Linked DNA regions of Homo sapiens: regions 1, 2, 3, 4, 5 and 7 are each linked to region 6. Evidence: promoter capture Hi-C in 16 types of primary human blood cells and fetal thymus (Javierre and others, 2016). All regions are on one chromosome and are shown on one strand. The core of a region is centred on a gene start or on the middle of the fragment in contact, and the rest is flanking DNA. Distances in the headings are between cores, read along the strand shown. Region 1 overlaps REPIN1-AS1 (REPIN1 antisense RNA 1). Region 2 holds the start of ZNF775 (zinc finger protein 775). Region 3 has its middle 4.0 kb from the start of LINC00996. Region 4 overlaps LOC107986858 (a long non-coding RNA gene). Region 5 holds the start of ACTR3C (actin related protein 3C). Region 6 holds the start of ATG9B (autophagy related 9B). Region 7 overlaps LOC728743 (zinc finger domain-containing protein LOC728743).

What was found. The method cuts DNA at HindIII sites, captures the fragments that hold promoters and counts their contacts. A CHiCAGO score of 5 or more calls a contact.
Region 1: a fragment that was not itself captured here is called in contact with the fragment with the promoter of ATG9B in region 6 in 3 of 17 cell types (naive B cells, monocytes and total B cells); the score reaches 7.4 in naive B cells.
Region 2: the fragment with the promoter of ZNF775 here is called in contact with the fragment with the promoter of ATG9B in region 6 in 1 of 17 cell types (neutrophils); the score reaches 6.9 in neutrophils.
Region 3: a contact is called between a fragment that was not itself captured here and the fragment with the promoter of ATG9B in region 6, in 3 of 17 cell types (naive B cells, total CD4 T cells and total B cells). The highest score is 6.2, in naive B cells.
Region 4: a fragment that was not itself captured here is called in contact with the fragment with the promoter of ATG9B in region 6 in 1 of 17 cell types (non-activated CD4 T cells); the score reaches 7.0 in non-activated CD4 T cells.
Region 5: a contact is called between a fragment that was not itself captured here and the fragment with the promoter of ATG9B in region 6, in 3 of 17 cell types (non-activated CD4 T cells, naive CD8 T cells and naive CD4 T cells). The highest score is 5.7, in non-activated CD4 T cells.
Region 7: a fragment that was not itself captured here is called in contact with the fragment with the promoter of ATG9B in region 6 in 2 of 17 cell types (non-activated CD4 T cells and total B cells); the score reaches 6.8 in non-activated CD4 T cells.

The regions. Positions count from the first base shown.
Region 1 is chr7:150,360,943-150,363,928 of GRCh38, reverse strand. It overlaps REPIN1-AS1 (REPIN1 antisense RNA 1), which reads left to right. Exons shown (of 4, transcript NR_183429.1): 4 at 1-1,271. Among named protein-coding and RNA genes, the nearest start is that of REPIN1, 6.4 kb to the left of the region's middle. The HindIII fragment of the contact is 2,705 bases long and covers 1-2,630 here.
Region 2 is chr7:150,377,873-150,380,664 of GRCh38, reverse strand. ZNF775 (zinc finger protein 775) reads right to left here and starts at 1,335. Exons shown (of 3, transcript NM_173680.4): 1 at 1,273-1,335. It overlaps ZNF775-AS1 (ZNF775 antisense RNA 1), which reads left to right. Exons shown (of 2, transcript NR_183445.1): 2 at 477-820. RefSeq lists enhancers at 117-176, 2,187-2,346 and a silencer at 967-1,776. The HindIII fragment of the contact is 8,122 bases long and covers 1-2,792 here.
Region 3 is chr7:150,428,179-150,431,177 of GRCh38, reverse strand. No RefSeq gene overlaps it. Among named protein-coding and RNA genes, the nearest start is that of LINC00996, 4.0 kb to the left of the region's middle. RefSeq lists an enhancer at 2,183-2,352. The HindIII fragment of the contact is 4,508 bases long and covers 1-2,999 here.
Region 4 is chr7:150,342,320-150,345,019 of GRCh38, reverse strand. It overlaps LOC107986858 (a long non-coding RNA gene), which reads right to left. Exons shown (of 3, transcript XR_001745420.3): 1 at 2,683-2,700; 2 at 1,379-1,492. Among named protein-coding and RNA genes, the nearest start is that of RARRES2, 2.0 kb to the right of the region's middle. The HindIII fragment of the contact is 764 bases long and covers 960-1,723 here.
Region 5 is chr7:150,323,021-150,325,979 of GRCh38, reverse strand. It overlaps ACTR3C (actin related protein 3C), which reads left to right and starts at 2,435. Exons shown (of 8, transcript NM_001164458.2): 1 at 2,435-2,511. LRRC61 (leucine rich repeat containing 61) reads right to left here and starts at 2,625. Exons shown (of 3, transcript NM_001142928.2): 1 at 2,420-2,625; 2 at 1-139. RefSeq lists an enhancer at 1,796-1,865 and a silencer at 2,256-2,575. The HindIII fragment of the contact is 811 bases long and covers 1,257-2,067 here.
Region 6 is chr7:151,022,973-151,025,799 of GRCh38, reverse strand. It overlaps ATG9B (autophagy related 9B), which reads left to right and starts at 1,306. Exons shown (of 14, transcript NM_001317056.2): 1 at 1,306-1,926; 2 at 2,070-2,113; 3 at 2,291-2,355; 4 at 2,594-2,755. The coding sequence starts at 1,377. It overlaps LOC124901777 (a long non-coding RNA gene), which reads left to right. Exons shown (of 3, transcript XR_007060593.1): 3 at 767-805. RefSeq lists an enhancer at 1-395. The HindIII fragment of the contact is 8,592 bases long and covers 1-2,827 here.
Region 7 is chr7:150,406,713-150,409,528 of GRCh38, reverse strand. LOC728743 (zinc finger domain-containing protein LOC728743) reads right to left here. Exons shown (of 3, transcript NM_001395976.1): 2 at 1,041-1,945. The coding sequence starts at 1,917. The coding sequence ends at 1,306. Among named protein-coding and RNA genes, the nearest start is that of ZNF775-AS1, 24 kb to the right of the region's middle. RefSeq lists an enhancer at 2,531-2,580. The HindIII fragment of the contact is 2,546 bases long and covers 13-2,558 here.

The DNA of each region.
Region 1 (2,986 bases), core at 29-2,528, 660 kb after region 6:
TGGCCTAGCCCAGTGGAGACGGTCTCAGCTTTTGACAAGCTAGCCGGAGAAAGGGCTGGACAGGAAGGGGCCCACTGGACAGCGAATATTGATAGGGCCCCTGGGAGGATCAATTTTCCCCTCCAACAGTGCCTGGCTCCCATTATCAGATTAGATGCAAAGTGGGCTGGCATGCCAGGGGGTGACAGGAACAGTGTCTCCAGAAATCCTCTGTGAAGACACCCAAGTATTGTTCAGAAGTGGCCCTGTATCTGGAAGAGGGAAAACTGCACCCACTTCTTGCAGACATACAGTTCCAGCTCCCCCCACAGGACTTGCTCATACATCCAACAAATATTTAATCAGTGCCCACCATCTGCCACTGTGCCAGGTGCCCGGCCTCATCATGAGTCAGGCAGAGGTGGTCTGTGCAGTTTTCCCACAATGTGAGAGGGTGCTGAGAAGACTTTTAACGCTTATTTAACTACGGAAATAACTCTTGGTTTGGTACCTACTACAAAATAAAAACAAGCGCTTGTTGATAATTTCTGGATGGATGACTGTGGAAAGCTGGAGGAGACTGAGGATCAATTTGCTCTAATGAACCTTCCCTTGACTATCATCTCCGTTACCTCCTGCCGCATCCCTACGGCAAATATGCAAGACTCTCACGCAGCTAATTTCCAGGGGTTTGCAGTCTGGGGAGGAAGCAGAAAGCACATCCCTCACTGACCCTGAGGAGGGGCAAATCTCTGGTAGCAGTCACAGGTACGTGCTGTACACACTTCCCATCCTTTGAGCCTTCCCAGCTGGAGAGCACCAAGAGAACGCAGTTGGGGAGGCCCCGAAAGATGAAGGGTTGTTGAGCTTGAAGGCAGTGAAAAAGTAAATGGAAGAAAGCTCTCTGCCCTCCACTGCCTAAATGCAGGATATAGATTTAGAAGGATAAAAGGGGTCTGCTCCCTCTCTCGACCAGGGAAAAGTTAACCACTGAAGACAACTTTAGACTCTTATGGGCCTGGAGCTGGAACCAGAGGAATGGACATGAAGGCGCTTTACTAACTCTATTTATCTGCCAGTTACTTACCTTTCTACAAGTTCTCCCCTTAGACACTCAAAGTTCTTTTCCTTTGTCCTGTCGCTTCCCTAAAACTTGGCTTTTCTTTGTTGAAGATGCTATACAAGCTGGAATTCAAAGCTACCACTTTGAGAACTACTCAATTCCTGCGTGTCTCCCAGGCAGATGTGAAATACACATGTTAATAAACTTCCACTGGTTTTTCTCTTGTTAATCTGTCTTTTGTAACAGGAGTCCGTTCCAACCACAAATCTAGGGGGGCTGAGGAAAAACCCCTACAGTGGCACACACTGAAGAAGGCCCCCTCACTTTCCAAGGTTTCCCATCTCAGGTGGAAGGAGGCCTGCTAAGTCATGTGAAAATTATTCAGGAAAAGATCAAAGTGCTTCTACTTCTGCAGTTCTAAAAATATCTTTAAGTGCATGAAAACATGTATAATGCACGACAGGGACGCACGCTGTAAGAGTAGCCCTGGGCTGAGATCAAATGTCAGTCCCCAAATTCCACCACACAAGATGCTTTCCTGCCGCATATCTAGTTCCCAGAGTCTCTTGCTAAAAGAAAAAAGAATCCAGCTGGTAAAATGAGTATCAGGTAGATGGCTCAGATTTCCTGCAGAGGAAACTGGTACATGCGTGTGCCCCATAACGGTGAGGCCTGCTTCCCACCCTTATCCCCCACCCCTGCACCATAGTCTCCCTCACCAGGACTCTGCAGCAGTGGCCAGCCACTCCTCCTGCCTCCGCTCTGGCCCCATAAAGTCCTGTCTCCACTTAACCAGCTTGGCCCTTTAAACATGAATCAGATCAAGCAGCTCCCTTGCTAGGGAACTCCGACGCCTCCTGCTAACATTTGGACTGACATCCAACCCGCGGCCATGGCCTGCAGGGTTCCTGCAGACCTCCATGCGCCTGCCAGACACTGCCCCAGCAGCCGCCACTCATTTCCACCTTAGGGCCTTTGGAGTTGCCTAGACGATCCTCCTCCAGGTCCGCATGGACTTCCGTTCTTCACTGTATTCAGATTTTGGCTGAAGTCTCCTCGCCTCAAAACACGCTTCCCAACAAACCCCTCTAAAATAGCTTCACACCTAGATGAGATTCCTAGGACTGCTCTAACAAATGACCACCAGCTCGGCCTGAAATAACTGGCATTTATTATCTTACACGGCTGGAAGTCAGAAGCCCAGAATGTTTCACTGGGCCAAAGTCAAGGTGTCGGCAGGGCCCCACTCCCTCCAAAGTCTCTAGGGGAGAATCCTTCCTTGCCTTTTCTGGCTGGAAGAGCTGCTTCCCAGGCATTCTTGGGCTCGAGGCCCCTCCCTCTGTCTCCCAAGCCCTCAGCGCAGCATCTTGCTACACTTGTCACTTTGCCGGCCTGTGCTGCAGCTGAATCTCCCCCTGTACCCCCGCCAACACAAAGACACATGTAATTACCCAGATAGCCAGGAGAATTGTAAAAGCAAATACAAATCAAAAAGAATAAAAATAAGTTTTCTTTCTCCCTGGTGAAAAAAGGCAGAGATGCTCCTCACCAACACCCCCTTTTCTCAGCACATTTGCATTAGAAAGCTTGTGATTGTGAATTTTCCTCTGCCCATGTGAGATATATGCAAATCTTTTATTTTATTTTATTTTATTTTATATTTTTATTATTTTTTAGAGGCAGAGTCTTACTCTGTCACCCATACGGGAGTACAGTGATGCTCACTGCAGCCTCAAACTCCTGGGTTCAAGTGGTTCTTCTGCTTCAGCCTCCCGAGTGGCTGGGACTACAAGCATGCACCACCACACCTGCCTAATTTTTTAAAAAATTTTTGTAGACACAAGGTCTCGTTATGTTGCCTAGGATGGTCTCAAACTCCTGGCTTCAAGTGATCCTCCTGCCTTGACCTCCCAAAGTGCTGGGATTATAGGCGTGAGCCACCAC
Region 2 (2,792 bases), core at 86-2,585, 650 kb after region 6:
ACTGAGAACTCAACTCTGCTCATCTTTCCCCATTGCACCCCGACACGCCCCATCCTCTCGTGGCTCTTGAACTCACCGTGTCCTCGCACCCTGTGACCAACCTTGGAAGGCCCTTGCTCAGTTCTCCCCTTCCCAGCCCAGATTAGGGATCGCTTTGACCAGGAAGCCTTTTTGGACACACCAGGCACAGCCAGGAATCCCTTCTCTGTTTAACCTGTGCACCTAGGACCATCTACATGGAATCATCATTGTCATCAATTTGTTAGTCTGCACAAGACTACATGCATCTTAACACAGGGTCCTTCTCTCTCCCCTGCACCCAGTACAGGCTCCACACACAGTAATCCATTAATAAAAACTGTCATAAGGGAACACTTAAATAAAAGAAATTTCAGTACAAAACAGATTTGAAGCACGGAAGCATGAACCTTCAAGCTGAAAGGAGACAACTGCCATCTAATCTCTTCATTTTACAGATGAACATGGGAACAGTTAGCTGTGAAGCCTTGGGCTGTCGTCCGCCTCCAACCCCTGGGGCTCTGACCACACCCAGCCCCAGCTCAGATCATCTTGCTCAAAGGGCCGAAGGAGGACCCATCTCCACACCTTCCACATGTAGATATCCTCAACGTTCTTCACAGAGGGGATGCCCGCACCCCGCCCCACCGAGTTCGCGGCTGCTGTGCCCATCTTCCTAGAGAGGAGTTCTCCGCCACACCCGACACCACACACTTCCAACTTCTGCGGTGCTTCCCTCTCACTTATCTCCACCCCCAATCCTTATCCCCGCTCGTTTAATCACACATTTATTGGTCACCTACTATGTGTCTGTCACTCTGCAGCGAGCATTGGGGTTCCTGCCCCCAGAAACTGATCTATCAGGGAGGCGAACAGGGACGGGGAACTCGGAACAACGGGACAGCCCAGGAGAGACCGCCCGCGGGCGACCCCTCTACTCGCCACCGCGTCCTCCCTCCATTCTCACTAGCCTCCCTCCTAACCTCGCTGCCCTGGCCTGGCGCCCTCCCCACCCTCGGCCGCGCCCCTTTCCCCTCGGCTGTGTCGGGGCAGAGGGAACGCTTGAGACCCGGGGCTCGGGGGGCGCGCGGGGCTCGGGGCACCCCAGGCCCCCGCCCCATCCCTCCGCCCCAGCCCGGGCCGGGCGGAGGCAGCACGGGAGGAGCGGGGCCGGGCGCTGGTCCATCCCTCGCACCGCCCCTCCCCGCCCAAAATGCAGAGGGACTCGGAGGGAGGCGACGGGGAAATAAATACCTTTGACTTTGTGGCTAAGGTTAACGGGAACTGCCACCCCGAGGGCGACTTGGGCACCGGGCTCCCGGCCCTGGCCATTCCCGGGGCAGGCGGGGCGGGCACGGGTGCCTGATTGGCTGGCGGGCCTGGCCATCCCCGGGGCCGCCCAGCCACTCCATTGGCTGCGCCGCTCAGATGACCCGCCCGGCCCTATCGGAGCAGCCCGCGGGGCGGCTCCTTTGTTCTCTGGAGCCAATAGCCGAGGGGGGAGGGCTGACCTCGCCCCCGGCGGGCGCGCAAGGCCCGGGCGCCGTGAGCGCGCTAGCCGCCGGCCGCGGGGAGGAGACCTTGGGAGGTCGGGCCCCAGATGGCCGGCGGCGTCCTGGCACCCCTGCCAGGCCTGGACTCCGCGTGCGACCCCGTTGTAACGCCTGAACTCAGCGCACGTTCGCCGAGCGCCACAGCGCGCCGGACGCTGTTTCTCCCTGCTGGGGACCCATCAGGGCCCGGACAGAAACCCCGGCTGAGGCTGTGGCTGCCCTCAAGCCGCGATAGCCCCACCGTGGGGTGTGATAACTTTTAGGGTTCACTACGAGGGACCTTAGAAATCATTATACCCGACCCCTTCGTTTTCTGTTTCAGGGAGGTGGTCTCGCTCAGACCCCAGTGGCGCGATCATGGCTCAGTGCAACCTCGAACCCGTGGCTCAACCGAACCTCCCAACCTGCTAACTTTTTAAATATTTTGTAGAGATGGGGGTCTCGCCATGTTGCCCAGGCTGGTCTCGAACTCTTGAGCTTAAGTGACCCTGCGGCCTCGGCCTCCCAAAGTGCTGGGATTACAAACCCGCGCCCGGCCTAATCCCTTTGTTTTCTAGCTGAGGAACGGCTCTGAGGTTACGTTACTAGGTCGGGTTACTAGGTAGGGTTCCCGTGAGCGGAATCATCTCCGCCCAGTTGCCACCCCGGTCCAGACTGCCAGACCTTCAGGAAGGAGTATCTTCGCAACTCCCCACCCCATTGTAAGGAAATTCCTCACACTTCTCCCTCAAAGGGGGCGCAGCTGGGTCAACTCCCACTGGCAGGATGCTCTCCGGAGCTGCTAGAAGCTGCCTCTGGGGCATGAGGTAGATACAGACAGAAGCTGGGCCTCTGAGACTCTACAAACGGTTGCTGTTGGGCAGGCGGACCTTATTTTCTTCAGTCAACAGCTGATTAAACATTTGCCACAGGCCCGGCTGCGGTTTAGCCTCAGTAGCACAGCAGGAACTGGGGACTGAGATTCGATTTTGTCACTAACTTCATGTGTACTTTTTATAAAAGATACTTTTCTGTTTCTGGACTTTGACTTATTCGTCTATAAAATAGGGTTAATAATTTTCTAGTTGCCTGCATACCTTACTGAGTTTTTACCGTTAATTTGGTTATATTATCTATAGAAGGATTTGTAAAATACAAAATCATACACACCCTATAAAGAGGCCACACATCACTAGCTATCAACACTTTGGAGTCTCATTCTCCTGTTTATTTTTTTAAAGA
Region 3 (2,999 bases), core at 432-2,931, 590 kb after region 6:
AGAATCATATAAACTGTTCCCAGTGGGCAGAGCAATGGCACAGCCAGGAGTGTCTGGGGAAACTGAAGCATCCTGAGCCCCCTCCCAAGTCATCTGTGTCTGGGTTCTCTGCTTATGCCCCACAAATAGCTCGTCCAAGTAGGACATTCGAACAAGCACCCCGGACACAGAATGTAATCCGCACCACAGCCCAGCATATGGCCTGGCTTTTTCTCTTCATCTTCATCCTTGTATGTCTAAAGAGAAATGTTTGTGTGGGAGGAGATGACATTTGAGTTCGTTAATTCAAAACACTGGTGGTAAGATGACTTATTCCAGGAACTTCAGTTCTGGATTTCATCAAATAAACTCAGGGACTCAACAGAAGAAAGTGACCGTCTTGTGAGTCCACTGAGCTCTGTCTCCAGAACAGAACCCCAAGGAGTCGGACACAGGAGCAGCAAAGTGCAGGCTGCCCACTGCATCTGCACCAAGGGGAAGGCACGGTCTCTGCAGGCAGCTGCCTCGTACCCCAGCAGCTGCACGTTGCTGCCAGCGCCTGGGGACCGCTGCCTCAGATGGAGAAGCTGGAACTCAGATCCTAGACTATTCCCCTGGGGGAATGCGATGATGGTTTCCAAACTTCACAGGTGCAGGCACGGTTCAAACCTCTGCTTTGCCCTTCCTAACTGCCTGAACTTGAGCAAGTGACCTCCACCCCCAAGTACTTCAGGTTCCTGATCTATAGAAGGAAGATCGTAACGATAATGGTCTTGTGGAGTAGGATGAGGATTAAATAATCTCTCTCCAGTGGGGACTGTTTATTATCTCACACCCCATGTACCCCAGGGACAGAAAATGGGGTTAGGGGGCAGGGCGTGGTGGTGCACACCTGTGGTCCCAGCTGCTCTGGAGGCTGAAGCAGGAGGATCGCTTGAGCCCAGGAGGTCGAGGCTGCAGTGAGCCATGATTGCACCACTGCACTCCAGCCTGGGTGACCAAGGGAGACCCTGTCTCCAAAAAAATAATGCGGTTAGAGTTAGCATCTCCCTTGCTCCTTGGCTTTCAGGCCATACCTCTTCTCCCTTTTGAGAACTAGTCGGCCTCTTCGAGTGTTAGCTGCTGGTCTCTTCCCTTCGTGCTTTGGGGTATGGGCGTCCAGCTCAGTCCCCCCGCCGTCCCCAGGCTTTGTCCCAGGACATGCCGGGTGTATTTGTTCTCCATTGCTGCATAATAAACCACCACAAAAAGTGGCTTGAACAACACAGACTTACTCTCTTAGCGTTCTGGAAGTCCAGAGTCTGAAATGAACCTACAGGGCTAAAATCAAGGTGTCCACAGGGCAGGTTCCTTCTGGAGGCTCCAAGGGAGAATCTCACTGTTCCATGTCTCCTTCAGCATGAGACAGAGAGAGAAAGAGGGAGAGGTGGGGGGTTGGTGAGGTAGAAGGTGCCACACACTTTTAAATGACCAGATCTCATGTGAACTCAGAGCAAGAGCTCACTCATCACCAGGAGGATGGCCCAAGCCATTCATGAGAGATCTGCCCCCATGGCCCAAACACCTCCCACCAGGCACTTCTAACACTGCAGATTACATTTCATTCAACATGAGATTTGGGCAGGGACAAATATCCAAACTATATCAGCTATTAAAGTCCCCAAACCTTCCCTTTAGCTTCCAGTTGCTTTCCTTTGGCTTCTGGGGCAGCCTGCAGAGGGCAAGTGCCTTCGCTCTGAGAGCAGCTGAGTAAGGACACTGCCTTCTCTGACTATATTGAGTACCAGCCCCCCATTCACCAGGCATCCGACTCTCTGCCTCCAAACAATTGCTTTATGCAGGTCCAGGGGCTGGGCCTGGCTATTCTATGCCATCCTTGGGAGTCCTTCCCATCGTCAAGGATTTTCTGAAAGGTCAAGCCTGGCTGCACTGGAGAAGGGAATGTGGAAGCCACAGCCCCTCGTAGCCGGCAGCCTGGGCAGCAACTGGAGGAGGTGGAGCATTTTCCTCTCCCTGTGGGGCTGAGGAATGTGCAGAAAATGGGTCTGCGGGTTCTTTCCAGGTTGCTCAGGAAGGGGTCTAGGGATGTATCTGAGGGGACAAGGGTTTGGGTAGGGACCCAGGCCAGGACTCCAAAGCCCCAGTGCCTTGGCCCTGAGAGCTTGCCTGCCAGTGATTTCTACCTTGGCTGGAATGCACTTTGCCATTTCCTCTGTAGACACTTCCTTGGGCAGATGCGGCCATCTGGTCTACTCCACAGGAGGTGGGAGTGACAGCAGCAAATAAAGAAGACAGGAAGAAGGCGGCCAAGGGCTGCGTGAGTGAACACAAACAGCAGGAGGGCACTTTGCCCAGTGTGGCTTCTGAATCATGCCTCTGAAAGTCCCTGTGTGTGCACACAGCTGTGGGCAGTGCTTACGTTTCTGTGCATGTGTCTGTGGAGAGTGTGGTTGGGGGTCGGAGGGGGTACCTGTGAATTCCTTAGAGAATCCTAGAGGGTGGGACTCTACGGGACCTGCAAGCAAGTCCAGTGGGTTCCAAATGTTTTCTGCAGGTTCTAGTGGGGGCCCCCGGACACCTAAGGGGTGGGCCCAGCAGACAAGGTTGCTGGGGAGAGGGAGACCCATCCCATGCTGTAGCTGGAACACTCCTGGGGTGATCCATGGGTCTTCCTAGTGATATTTTGAAAAAATAAGATTTTACTTTCATTAAAAAAAAAACAAATCTTTGGAAGTAGTGACTTCCCATCTAACCTCCTCATTCTTCAGTGAAGAAACTGTAGCCCCCAGAAAGGAAGTGACTTCCCCAAGGTCGTGAAGGAACCAGCTGGGGGAGAGTCTCAGGCCTCCTGACTCCAAAGTGGGTGCCATCCACAGTTTATCTTGCATCTCTCGGCCTGCAGGGCTGTGGAGGTACAGGCGGCTGGAGGGTGCACTCTGCCCAGCCTCACCCCGGTGAGGACCAAGTGTCCCGGTTCTGAGGAACACAAGGCAAGGCCTCCCTCTTCTAAAGTCTCTTCT
Region 4 (2,700 bases), core at 92-2,591, 680 kb after region 6:
ATTTACTGTACTTTTAACTAACTCCAAGATTTTCTTGAGACAGAAGCCATGATTACCAAATATACAACAATAAGTATTATTATTATTTGTTTTGGGGACAAGGTTTTGCTCTGTGGCCAAGTCTGAGAGTGGTGGCTTGAGCCTATAATCCCAACACTTTGGGAGGCTGAGGTGGGAGGGTCATGTAGTGGCATGATCATAGCTCACTGCAACCTTGACTTCCCAGGCTCAAGTGATCGTCCCCCGCCAGCCTCCTGAGTAGCCAGGACTACAGACTTTTGCCACCACACTCAGCTAATTAAACTTTTTTTTTTTTGTAAAGATAGCCTCTCTCTATATTGCCCAGGCTGGTCTTGAACTCCTGGGTTCAGTGATCCACCCACCTTGGACTCCCAAAGTGCTAGGATTACAGGCATGAGTCACTACTCTCAACCCAAATATTCAATAATTAAAAATAAAAAAGTCAGTGTTTTCTCACCAATACCACACTACATATAAATGGGCTAAATTTGAATATCCAAGGAGATGAAACCTCATTTGTGACCTAGCCAGATAAATATAAGCATTTCAAATTAAATATTTTCATAATACTGACAAATAATTACAATCTACATACTTTTGTCACAAGAATCAACATACAGAGGTTTTAATTGTAATATACAGCATTGTGTAAATTGGCAAAATTTCAAGAAAAATGTGAAGAATTCTTAGTTGATATTGATAAATTTAGAATGGCTTTTGAATTTATGCAATATCATTTTTGAATTTATGCTAATGGTACCGAATTGACACAAGTTGGAAAATGTACTTAACTTCAATAGGTGTAGTTTTGCAACTGATATGCTCTTACTTCAAAGTCAAATCACTTCTTCTAAAAAAAACTATTTTTGTCAATGTGGTTGCAAATATTAAAGGACAATGTTTTTTGGTACTCAGTTCAGTTATTGGAAAACTAAGCTTGGAACAACTGGATACGTGAGTCTACTTTTTTAGCTGTCATGACCAGGAAGATCATTAACCATCATTAAATAGTGAAGTCCTGTTGTTGCTCCCCTGGACTGGGACATGTTACCTGGAGCTGAGCTCATGAATATGCCCTAAGTAGTCCTTTCACACATCCACACCTATGAGTGCTCTGCAGTAGGACTGTCCACCTCTTTGGGGTGCACCTCACATACCTACACCCAAAGTGAATTTTGTGTGGCCATTTAAGTATAGCCAGACTGGCTCCTTCCTCACCAACTCCCACCACCCTGCTCCCAACCTACCTCCCCACCTCAACTGCCTCACCTCCCCTGCAACAGACCTGATGCAACTTTCCCCCCAGCCCCCACCAAAGTCAGGATGAGTTTCCCGCTTTGCTCAGCTCAAGTCCTACCTTGTCCTGGAAGATTTCTCTCCTCACCCATCCTCAGGACGTCCCCCAGCATGGGTCTGTGGGGGCCAAAGGAAAACTTCCCCTTTGCCTTCTGAAGGTTTGCTGAAAAATCAACTGATGAAAGGCAGATTAATAGAATAAATTGATTCATTTATATTTTAGAGACAAGGTCTTGCTCTGTCCAGAGAGGCTGAAGTACAGTTTCATGATCAGAGCTCACTGCACCTTTGAACTCCTGGGCTCAAGCAATCCTCCTGCCTCGGCTTTAACAGGAAATATTTATTAACATACATGAGAGAGAACCACAAAGTGATTACCCCAACCCCTCAGTGGGATACAGAAGCTTATCCACCATCTTGAGTTTATACAAATATGGGGGCTCAGATAGTGGCAAGACAGGTTATGGAAGGGAGGGAAGAGGAGGCCTGGTTGGCAAAGGGAGTCTTGTTAGGTAGATGACACCTCACAGGTAGCAGCCCTCAGAAAGAACTGAGGGTAAATGTTTCTTTCAGATCTGTAAAGGTGTCAGCCTCTCAGTTAATCTTTCCTAGAGTTAGACAAGGGAGAGCCTCGGAGAAAGCCTGGCTACATCAATGCAGATTTCCTCTACAGATGCAAATCTCTCCACAAAAAGACAGCTTTTTGGTTATTCTATTTCCAACCATTCTGAACAGCCACCTTGAAATGTGTCAAAGAAGTATTTTTTGGGGTGAAATATTTTGGTTTCCTTCAAGTTCTTGGGCTGGGAAACATCTTTGGGTGCATCTTTTCTCTCTAACCCCATCTAAAGCTTTCAGGGAACACGGATCCCATCTCTTTCTGCTTAAGGGCGGCTGAGTAGCTCACAGCTGGGGAGTGAAGTACCCTAAGTAGTGGTGGGATTTCAGACACCTGGAAGTGGTTAATGGAAGCCGAGTTTCTTTCTGGTGCCCCCAGAGCACACTGTAAAGGAAATTCTCAGCTCTAAGTGGAGAATCCTGGTTAGGGGTGCGTAAGTAGGGGACAAAAGCCTTGTGCTCGGCACTGGACATCAGTTGCTTTTCATGTTTCTTCATTTAATCCTCAAAACAACTCCTTAAGACAGAGTTTCTGATCCCCATCTTACAGATAAAGAAACAGAAGTTCAGAGAGAGCCATGAAGTTACATGAGATCCTCTACTTCAGGTGATCCCTGCGGTGTGGGAACCAGAGGCATGGTGTTGGTGGTTACTGACGTGCAAAGTCTCAGAGCTTCTTCATCCTTGCTCCAGCGTACCCAGGAGTCGAGCCGGTATTTGGACAGTTTTCCTTGAGTTTCTGCTCACCTTATGAATTCCATCATG
Region 5 (2,959 bases), core at 413-2,912, 700 kb after region 6:
CGCAGGCCCGTCAGGTAGATCTGGGATTTTGTGTCATCACTGGTACAACAGTGACACCACCATGTTCTCTTCCACAGAAGTACTTTAGGATGACAGTGCAGCTGGCACTGTTGAGAGCCAACCTTGAATCCAAATGAATCTAAAACGTAAATTTTAAAAAGAAAGTCATTGATAAATTTCAGTACTTTATAACTAAGAAGTTACTTGTGGCCAGGTGTGGTGGCTCACGCCTGTAATCCTAGCACTTTGGGAAGCCAAGGTGGGTGGACTGCTTTGAACTCAGGGGGTTGAGACCAGCTTGGGCAAGATGGCGAAACCTTGTCTTTACAAAAAAAATACAAAAAAATCAGCCAGCTGTGATGGCCTGTGCCTGTGGTCCCAGCTTCTTGGCAGTCTGAGGCAGGAAGATGGCTTGAGCAGGGAAGTGGAGATTGCAGTGAGCCGTGATTGCACCACTGCATTCCAGCCTGAGCAACAGAGCCAGACCCTGTCTCAAAAAAAAGAAGTTACTTGTGACACACATCACCACAGCTGACAACACATTGGAGGCCTACAACCACAACAAGACAAGATTCCAAGGGCTTCTAAGCTGAAGCACGGCCTTTTGGGCTGCACGCCTGCCCATAGTCGATCATGTGGGCAGCAGTCAGGAAAGCGCCCTAGCCAGGCCACATGGGAAGCAGGCACATCCCTGGGAGGCAAAAGGGAAAGCGGGCCAGGCCGGGGTGACGGCAGGGCGGGGTGATGGCACAATGCATGGAGGAGACTGTGGGGAGAGCTGTTCAGGAGGTGGCCCATGCCTAAGCCTCAAGTGGAAGAGGAGGAATGATGGAGAGCGCCTCCACAGTGAGCCTCTTTCCTCATACAGGTCCATGTGGGCTATTTTGGGGCAAATCTTCAGGCAAGTTTCTAGAGAAACTGAAGGAAAACACCAGAGGGGGCTGCCCAGGTAATGCTGACAATACAGGGAGGTGAGAGGATGAGCAGATCTCAAAGGTGACTGAGAGGCAGAGGGGAGAGACAAGGAAAAACCAAAGTAAAGTGAAGTTAGGGAAACCAAGAAAAGACTTTCCAAAAGCAGTGGTCAGCGGGGTCAAAGGTCCCTTCAGTGGGCGGTACAGCAGGAAGTGGGGGAGAAGCAGGAACCGGGAATGCTGGAGGTGGGGATGGGAGGGAAAAGGCTTGGCTCTGTCCCTAAACAGAGAGAAGGTGACCTGGGAAGAGCGGGGAGGCTAACTACACAGGGAAGAGAAGCTTCCTGGAGAAAGGGATCCAGGGCACAGGCGGTGGAAGGGATTGGCCTCAAGAGACCAGGAAGAACTCTCATTTTTCCTGACAGAGAAAGTAGGATGGGTCTGGTAGCAGGCAAGTCCTGGAGTGCTGTGCAGAAGGGAAGTGAGGCAGCTTATGCCTGAGAGCCAGGCATGTTGATTGCTCACGGGGAGCCGTACATCTGTAAAGGCAGCCAGCGGCTGGCTGAGTGATCTGGCTTAGCCTGGGCTGGGAAGCACCTCCGCACACTGGCTCAAGAAATTAGACCTATTCTTCTCGCTGCTCTCACCAAGCCTTTTCCCAAGTGCGTGCCCAGAAGGAAAGCGGCCACTCTTCTACTTCTCTTGTGCCTGCAAGAGAAGTAGAACCCCACCCTGGGCATTCCATGATTATGCCAGGCCTTTCTCACTCCGCCCAGTCCCTCTCCAGCCCCTCTGCTCTCAACTCCAGCACTGCAGGGGGACAGAGTGTCTACTCCACCCCCACCAGGCAGGGGATTTTAAGCACCTGCTGGGCCCTCAAGTCTCATCTTCCTCCACAACATCTGTGAGAAGATTGAAAGGTGGTGAGAGAAAGGGATAGGAGGAGATGAACGTGTGAAAGGAAAAGAGGAGAGCAAGCCATTGCATGTTTTGGGGTTTTGTCCCACACGCAAATTTGACTACTTATAAAGTCTAAGCAAGATGTTTTAAATAATAATCATGCATCATTAGGTTTCATACTGTGCAAAAAAAATGACACAAAGTGAGATCTGTTACAAACGACACGGCAGCACTCTGCTACTTTCTGGAAGCTTAGGGCTAACAATGGAGTCAGAGCATGGCATCCAGAGCCCGTCTCTGAGCACGGCCGTGATCCTGCTCCAGCACACGCCTCGGTTTCCTCGTCTACATTACGGGAATAGTAACAGCACCCGCCTCATGAGATTGTTAGTGTTAAACGAGTTAATTAATACCACAGTATTTCAGGGCAGTTCTCGGCACAGAGGGAGAGATGGGTAAGGGCTGGCTGTTCCGGAAGATTCTGGCCTCTCCCAGTGTGTTTCGGCGCGAGGGCACCGCTGGCCCAGCAGGTGGCCCCCCGGGGCCGGCACGGGCCCCGACAGCCGCCCCCTTCCCTGAACCTCGGCGGCCCAGTCCCCGCTTACCTGAGGGGTGGAGCCGGCAGCCTGCGGAGCCACTGGCCAAGCTGGGAAGTCCGGCGCAACTCCGCACCGCAGAGCCGGCGCCTCCTCGGCAGGTAAGAGCCGCAGCCCCGCCGCCCGCCGCCTGGCGGCCCCTGACCCCTGGGCCGCGTGCCCACCACCCAACTTGTTGGCCAGCGTGCTTCTCCCAGCGCCGCAGGCCTGAGCTCCCGGAACGCGCCCAGGGGGCCTGGCCAAAGGCCGTAGTGGGCGCTCTGGATTCCGGGATGCGCCAGGGGTTACTTCCGGAAGCGCAGCCTGCGGGGGTCTTCGCGCGCACCCCCCGCCTCGCAGTTGGTACGTTCCTCCTACCTGCGGTGCCTGAGTGCGCAGGCGTGGGCAGCGAGGCGGTGCGGCCGGAAGCGAAGGGGCCGTGAGGTCAACAGTCGGTAATCGTTTATCGGTGCGGCCTTAGAGAAAGGACCTCCAAGCCCTTGTTCAATACATGTTGGGTGGTGGTCACAGGTGCCAGTCTCCGGACGGATGGCGGCCTAGATTTCCTCC
Region 6 (2,827 bases), core at 57-2,556:
AACCAACTCTCAAATCCAAGATAGCTGCCTTTCCTTTCTTCACCTCCTCTTCTTAGTTTTCCCCAACTTGGCTGCAAAGTCAGCCTCCCCTCTTCTCTTCCTTAGCACCTCAGACCAATAAAACATGCAACCTTTTCTTATTCTTTTTAAAAAATTTATTTTTGACCAGGCGCAGTGGCTCACGCCTGTAATGCCAGCACTTTGGGAGGCCAAGGCGGGTGGATCACGAGGTCAGGAGTTCAAGACCAGCCTGGCCAACATGGTGAAACCCCATCTCTACTAAAAATACAAAAAATTAGCTGGGTGTGGTGGCACACACCTGTAGTCTCAGCTACTCAGGAGGCTGAAGCAGAAGAATCACTTGAACTTGGGAGGCGGAGGTTGCAGTGAGCCGAGATTGTGCCACTATACTCCAGTCTGGGTGACAGAGTGAGACTGCCTCAAAAAGAAAAAAAATTATTTTGTTTGTTTTTTAGATTTTGTAGAGATGGTGTTTCCCTAAGTTGCTCAGGCTGGTCTCGAACTCCTGGCCTCAAGTGATCCTCTCGCCCGGGCCTCCCAAAGTCCTGGGATTACGGGTGTAAGCCAACATGCCTGGCCCCTTTACTTCTTCTTTTCTGTTTTGGTCACAAAACATTTCTCTGTTGATCACTGTAGTGTGTGTGTGGAGGGAAGTGGGGGAGGTACACTCTTAAGAAATGAAATAGTTAACATCTTGGTCCTAAGATTTGTTGTAGAGATGGAGTCTTCTCATTCTGTTCCCCAGGCTGGTCTTGAACTCCTGGCCTCAAGCAATCCTCTTTCCTCGGCTTCCCAAAGTGCTGAGATTGATTACAAGTGTGAGGTACTGCGCCCTGCTACAATCCTTTAATAGGATGTTTTTGGGGGGGGTGGCAGGGGGCAGGATCTAGCTCACTGTAACCTATACTGTTCCAGTGTAACCTGCACCAAGCCATCCTCCCACCTCAGTCTCTTGAGTAGCTAGGAACACAAGCACACATCACCACACCTGGCTCTAACACGATTTTGCTTTTTGCTTTTGTCATTTTGGCTGCTGTTCTTTTTATCTTTCATTCATTCAAGGTCTGAAGATGGAGATAATAGGAATCTTCTCATCTCAATGTGCTCTTTGGCCCCTCCTCTTAAACTGATGCCCCTCTCAGGCCCTGAGGGATTTGGCCTCAGGTTGCCCTGGAAGGGGTGTGAGTGATCAGACAGGTGACTGAGAGCTGGGACGCCTGAGGCCTGCCTAGGCTGAGTCACCTAGTAATGTTGTTGTCATTGTTCCTGTTGAAGTCCCAGCTCAGTGTCACAGACCTTTGTGGAAGCAACAACAGCTCCCATCCTTCCAACCTTTCTGGAGAAGCCGTGGCCTGATGGTGAGCCGAATGGGCTGGGGGGGGAGAAGAAGGCGGCTGGGGCGGTGGGGAGATCTGGGGCCCGGATCGGTGCCCCTCCTCCCCATGCCACTGCCACCTCCTCCTCCTCCTTCATGCCGGGGACCTGGGGGAGGGAGGATCTCCATCTTCTCTCTGTCCCCTGCCCCTCATACAAGAAGCTCCCCCTCCTCATTTTCCCCTCCCACCGCAGGGCCCCCTTGCTCAGTGCTACAGGGGACAGGGGCTTCTCAGTCTTGCCACAGTGCTCTCCCTATCCCAGCCACCCCCCCAACACAGGCTCAACCTGCAATGACACCTGCCTCTGCATCTCCCTCCTGGGGATCCCACTCCACCCCACCCCTGGCCCCGGCAACCCCCACTCCCTCACAGCAGTGCCCCCAGGACTCTCCTGGGCTGCGGGTAGGCCCTTTGATCCCTGAACAGGATTATGAGCGGCTGGAGGACTGTGACCCTGAGGGGTCCCAAGACTCACCCATCCACGGGGAGGAGCAGCAACCCCTGCTTCATGTCCCTGAAGGGCTCCGAGGTATGTGTGTGGGTGTGGGTGGGAGAGGGTTAGTGGTGCCTGGGAGCTCCAGTACTTATCCCAGGCTGGGCCTCTGGCAGCGGGTTGAGAACGTGGAGAATTGATCACATGCCAGGGGCTGACACTCTCCCCTCTGTGCCCAGGCTCCTGGCATCACATCCAGAACCTGGACAGTTTCTTCACCAAGATATCCTTTGCGCTAGGCCTGCAGAGGTGGCATGGGAAGGTCCTCTTGGAGCTGGCACTGTTCTTGGCAGGGAGACTCCGTGAGGGCGTCATGGGTGGGAGACTTGTTGGGGCTGAGGGGAGGTGTCCTCAGGAGAGGCCCCCCGTGCCTCAGGCTTGTTCCTTGACACGCAGCCACATCTACAGCTACCACCAGCGGAATGGCTTTGCCTGCATCTTGCTGGAGGATGTCTTCCAGCTGGGGTGAGACGCTTAGCCCGGGCCCGGAACTCGGTCCCCTGGGCCCATGGCTTCCTTCTGTCATTTTGCTTCCTTAATTGTGCCAGCTGCTTCCATCCCATGCTTTCCCGAGCAGCCCAAGGGCTCAGCAGGGGCAGGGTCAGGGAGGATAACCATGGGCTGCTCTGGGGGCTGGGGCAGGAGCCCACCTGGCTGTCCCTGATCACTGCAGCATCCCGGCACCCCCCCTTCCTCCCGGCAGACAATTTATTTTCATTGTCACCTTCACAACCTTCCTCCTTCGATGCGTGGATTACAATGTTCTCTTTGCCAACCAACCAAGTAACCATACCAGACCTGGGCCGTTCCACAGCAAAGTGACCCTGTCAGATGCCATCCTACCCTCAGCCCAGTGTGCTGAGAGGTTAGTGACAACCTGGTGGGGCCCTGGGGGTGAAGCATGGGCAGTGGGTAGAGGAGTAGACGGGAGCCCCAC
Region 7 (2,816 bases), core at 36-2,535, 620 kb after region 6:
TGTAGGCAAGCTTGGCAAACCTGTTTCCTCATCTGCCAAAAGGCTGAAGAGGCCCGTGCCTCAGAGCGCCAGCTTGGAACCAGAGGTCCTGGAGCAGAGTCCTGGCTGCCCCCTTTCTCACTGCCAGACCTTGGCCAGGCCTCTTAGCTGGGGGCCTTATGTTCTCTTGCCCAGATGACCCAAGCCCCTCGAGGCTCCAGCTCTTCCCACATCAGTCTGTCCTCACAGTGCCTCTGATTCTCCTCCTAAAGCATAAGTCTGAGATCATAGCACTCATCTCATTAAAAATCTCAGTGTCCCCACCCCCTGACCACGAAGTCCTTTGTAGGGCAAACCTCCCCTTGGGACACCTGGAGACAGTCACTGAACTATCAGGACCCCCCCTCCCTTGAAAACACCCTTCTACACACTTGCTCTTCCTAGAACAATTTTATTTGTCCCCATGACCTGGTTCAAAGCCATCAAACTCCCCTGGGTGACGAAGAGAAACCAGTCACCCTCCTCGGTCTCACCCCAGAGCACTTTGTAGGTTGGCCCCGCGTCACACACCGAGTGTGAGCACCCCGTGTCAGGGCCTGCGGTCCTCATGTGTGTCTCTGGGAGAGCCCAGCCCGGCACAGTCAGTGGCACATGGTGTGGCAGAATCAACTAAGGCTCTGTGCACCAGTGACCTCACCCTCTCTCATCCAGTAGCTGCAATATATCCCAGCGAGGAAGAGTCCCTCATCTATATCCCCAACTTACAGATGAGTAAACTGAAACATGAAGTGAAATGACATCTCAAGGACAGCAGAGAGTGTGTACAGGAGCCAGGAGGCCTAGGGGCTGAGGTTGGGCGTGGGGTTTGTGGAAAGTGGCCTCTCCAAGTCTCTTTCAACTCTGACATTCTGGGGATGAAGATCCGGTAAGCAGCTCATCACAGAGAAACCTACAGCCCGGTACCCAGACCGCCCCACCTGCCATCAAGAATCAACACCACGCACTCCACCCCCACCACTCCCAGCCCTGAGAGGGGCTCTGGCCAGCCCCGCAGGTCTCACCTGCTCTAGGCCGGATGGGCCAGAGAAGGAGAACCATGGCAGGAGCCGGAAGCAGCTGTGCGCAGCCAGCCAGAGGGTCCCGAGGGAGGAACGCGAGCGGGCGGCCGGAGCCTGGCGGCGGCCCACACCTTCAAGAGCCCAAGCCAGCGCTGCCCCTCTCCCGGGATCCCATCTAGAGAGGGAGCTGCGGCCCAGGGCCATCTCCAGGGGTCGGGGACGCACGTGCGGGGCGGGAAGCAGCCGTCGGCAGCAGGCCCCGGGCGCATCATAGCACGCGTCCTAAGTGGGCCGCCTGGCCCTCGGGCCCGTGGCCGTGGCTGCGCTGATGGGTCTTGAGCGAGCCCTCGCGCGCGAAGCTCTTGCCGCAGCGGGGGCAGAAGTAGGGCCGCCGCTCCCCGAAGACGCCGGGGCGGCGCGGGTGCGGCGCGGGCATGCGCGCGTGGGTGCGCTGGTGGTTGAGCAGGAAGCGCGGCTCGCGGAAGCAGCGGCCGCACTGCGCGCACTGGTGCGGCTTCTCGCCGCTGTGGATGCGCTGGTGCGTGAGCAGGTTCTGCTTGAGGCTGAAGCAGCGGCCGCACTCGGGGCAGGGGAAGGGCCGCTCCCCGGTGTGCGTGCGCTGGTGCACCTCGAGGTTGTGCTTGACGCTGAAGGCCTTGCCGCACTCGGGACACACGAAGGCAGCCGCGCGGCCCGCTCCGGCGTGCGCCTTCTGGTGCCGCACCAGGCTGGGCTGCTGCGAGAAGGTCTGGCCGCACAGCGGGCAGCGGTAGGGCTGCTCCTCTGCAGGGTGGTGGATGACCAGGCCTCGCTCGTCCCCCAGACCCTCCTCCCCGTCCCCCGCAGGGGACCCGCCCCCGGAGGACGCCAGCTCGGTCATGGGCACTTCCAGCTGCAATCACCAGTCCCTAGGGAGACAGAAGCGGGGGCGGGGGTGGGGGGTGGAGAGAGAGGGGTCGGGGAACACGAGGGTTAGCCAACCCCCAGCCTGGCAGGGACACTCACCTCCCACAACCTCCACCTTTCGCCCCGTTTTGTTCAAGCTCAAGTTCCCCTGCTGGGAATTGGTGTTCCTCTTCCTCCACTGCCTTTTAAGCACGGCCTACACTCCTTCCAGTCCCTTCCCAAGGGCACCTTCTCCTAGAAGCCTTCCCTGACCTTTCCACCCCGGGCTTAAACACCGTGTGACACAACCATGTGGCTCTCACTGATCATACTGCACGAGGGTCAGTCATGCCACCTCTGTCCCCCGACTCCCAGCACCCTAAGGACAGAGCTGCCTTCTTTCAACCCCAGCACCTAGCACCATGCCAGCCAGCCACACAAGACACTAGACAGATGGTGATGAGTTTCAGTTAGGATTTTCAGTTTCAGTTTCAGCTAGGATTTTCAGTTACCTTCGTCTAGATATGTCTTATCCCTCCAACCAGATCTCAAGGACAGGGGGAGGTAGGGAAGTGCACCCCAAACTTGGAGAAAAGGGTGGCATTATCAGTGATTTAAAGATATTTTTGTGAAGCTTAAAACAGGAAAAAAAACACAACCCTGTAAACTTGAAAGTGACCTCGGTTAAACATTAAAGGCGGCAGCTCTTTGTTTATCAAAATGAGGCATGTGTTCAAAAGGTTTCCAAGTCACTGAACCAGGGTGTGGGCTCCCAGGGGGACTGGTCTCAGCGTGATTCCTCTTGGTATCCTCACAGCAAAGCCTGGCCCAAGGCTGAGCAGCACCCTCAGTGCCCAGCCAACACCCCCAAACCCAGCTCCCTTCATGCTGCTT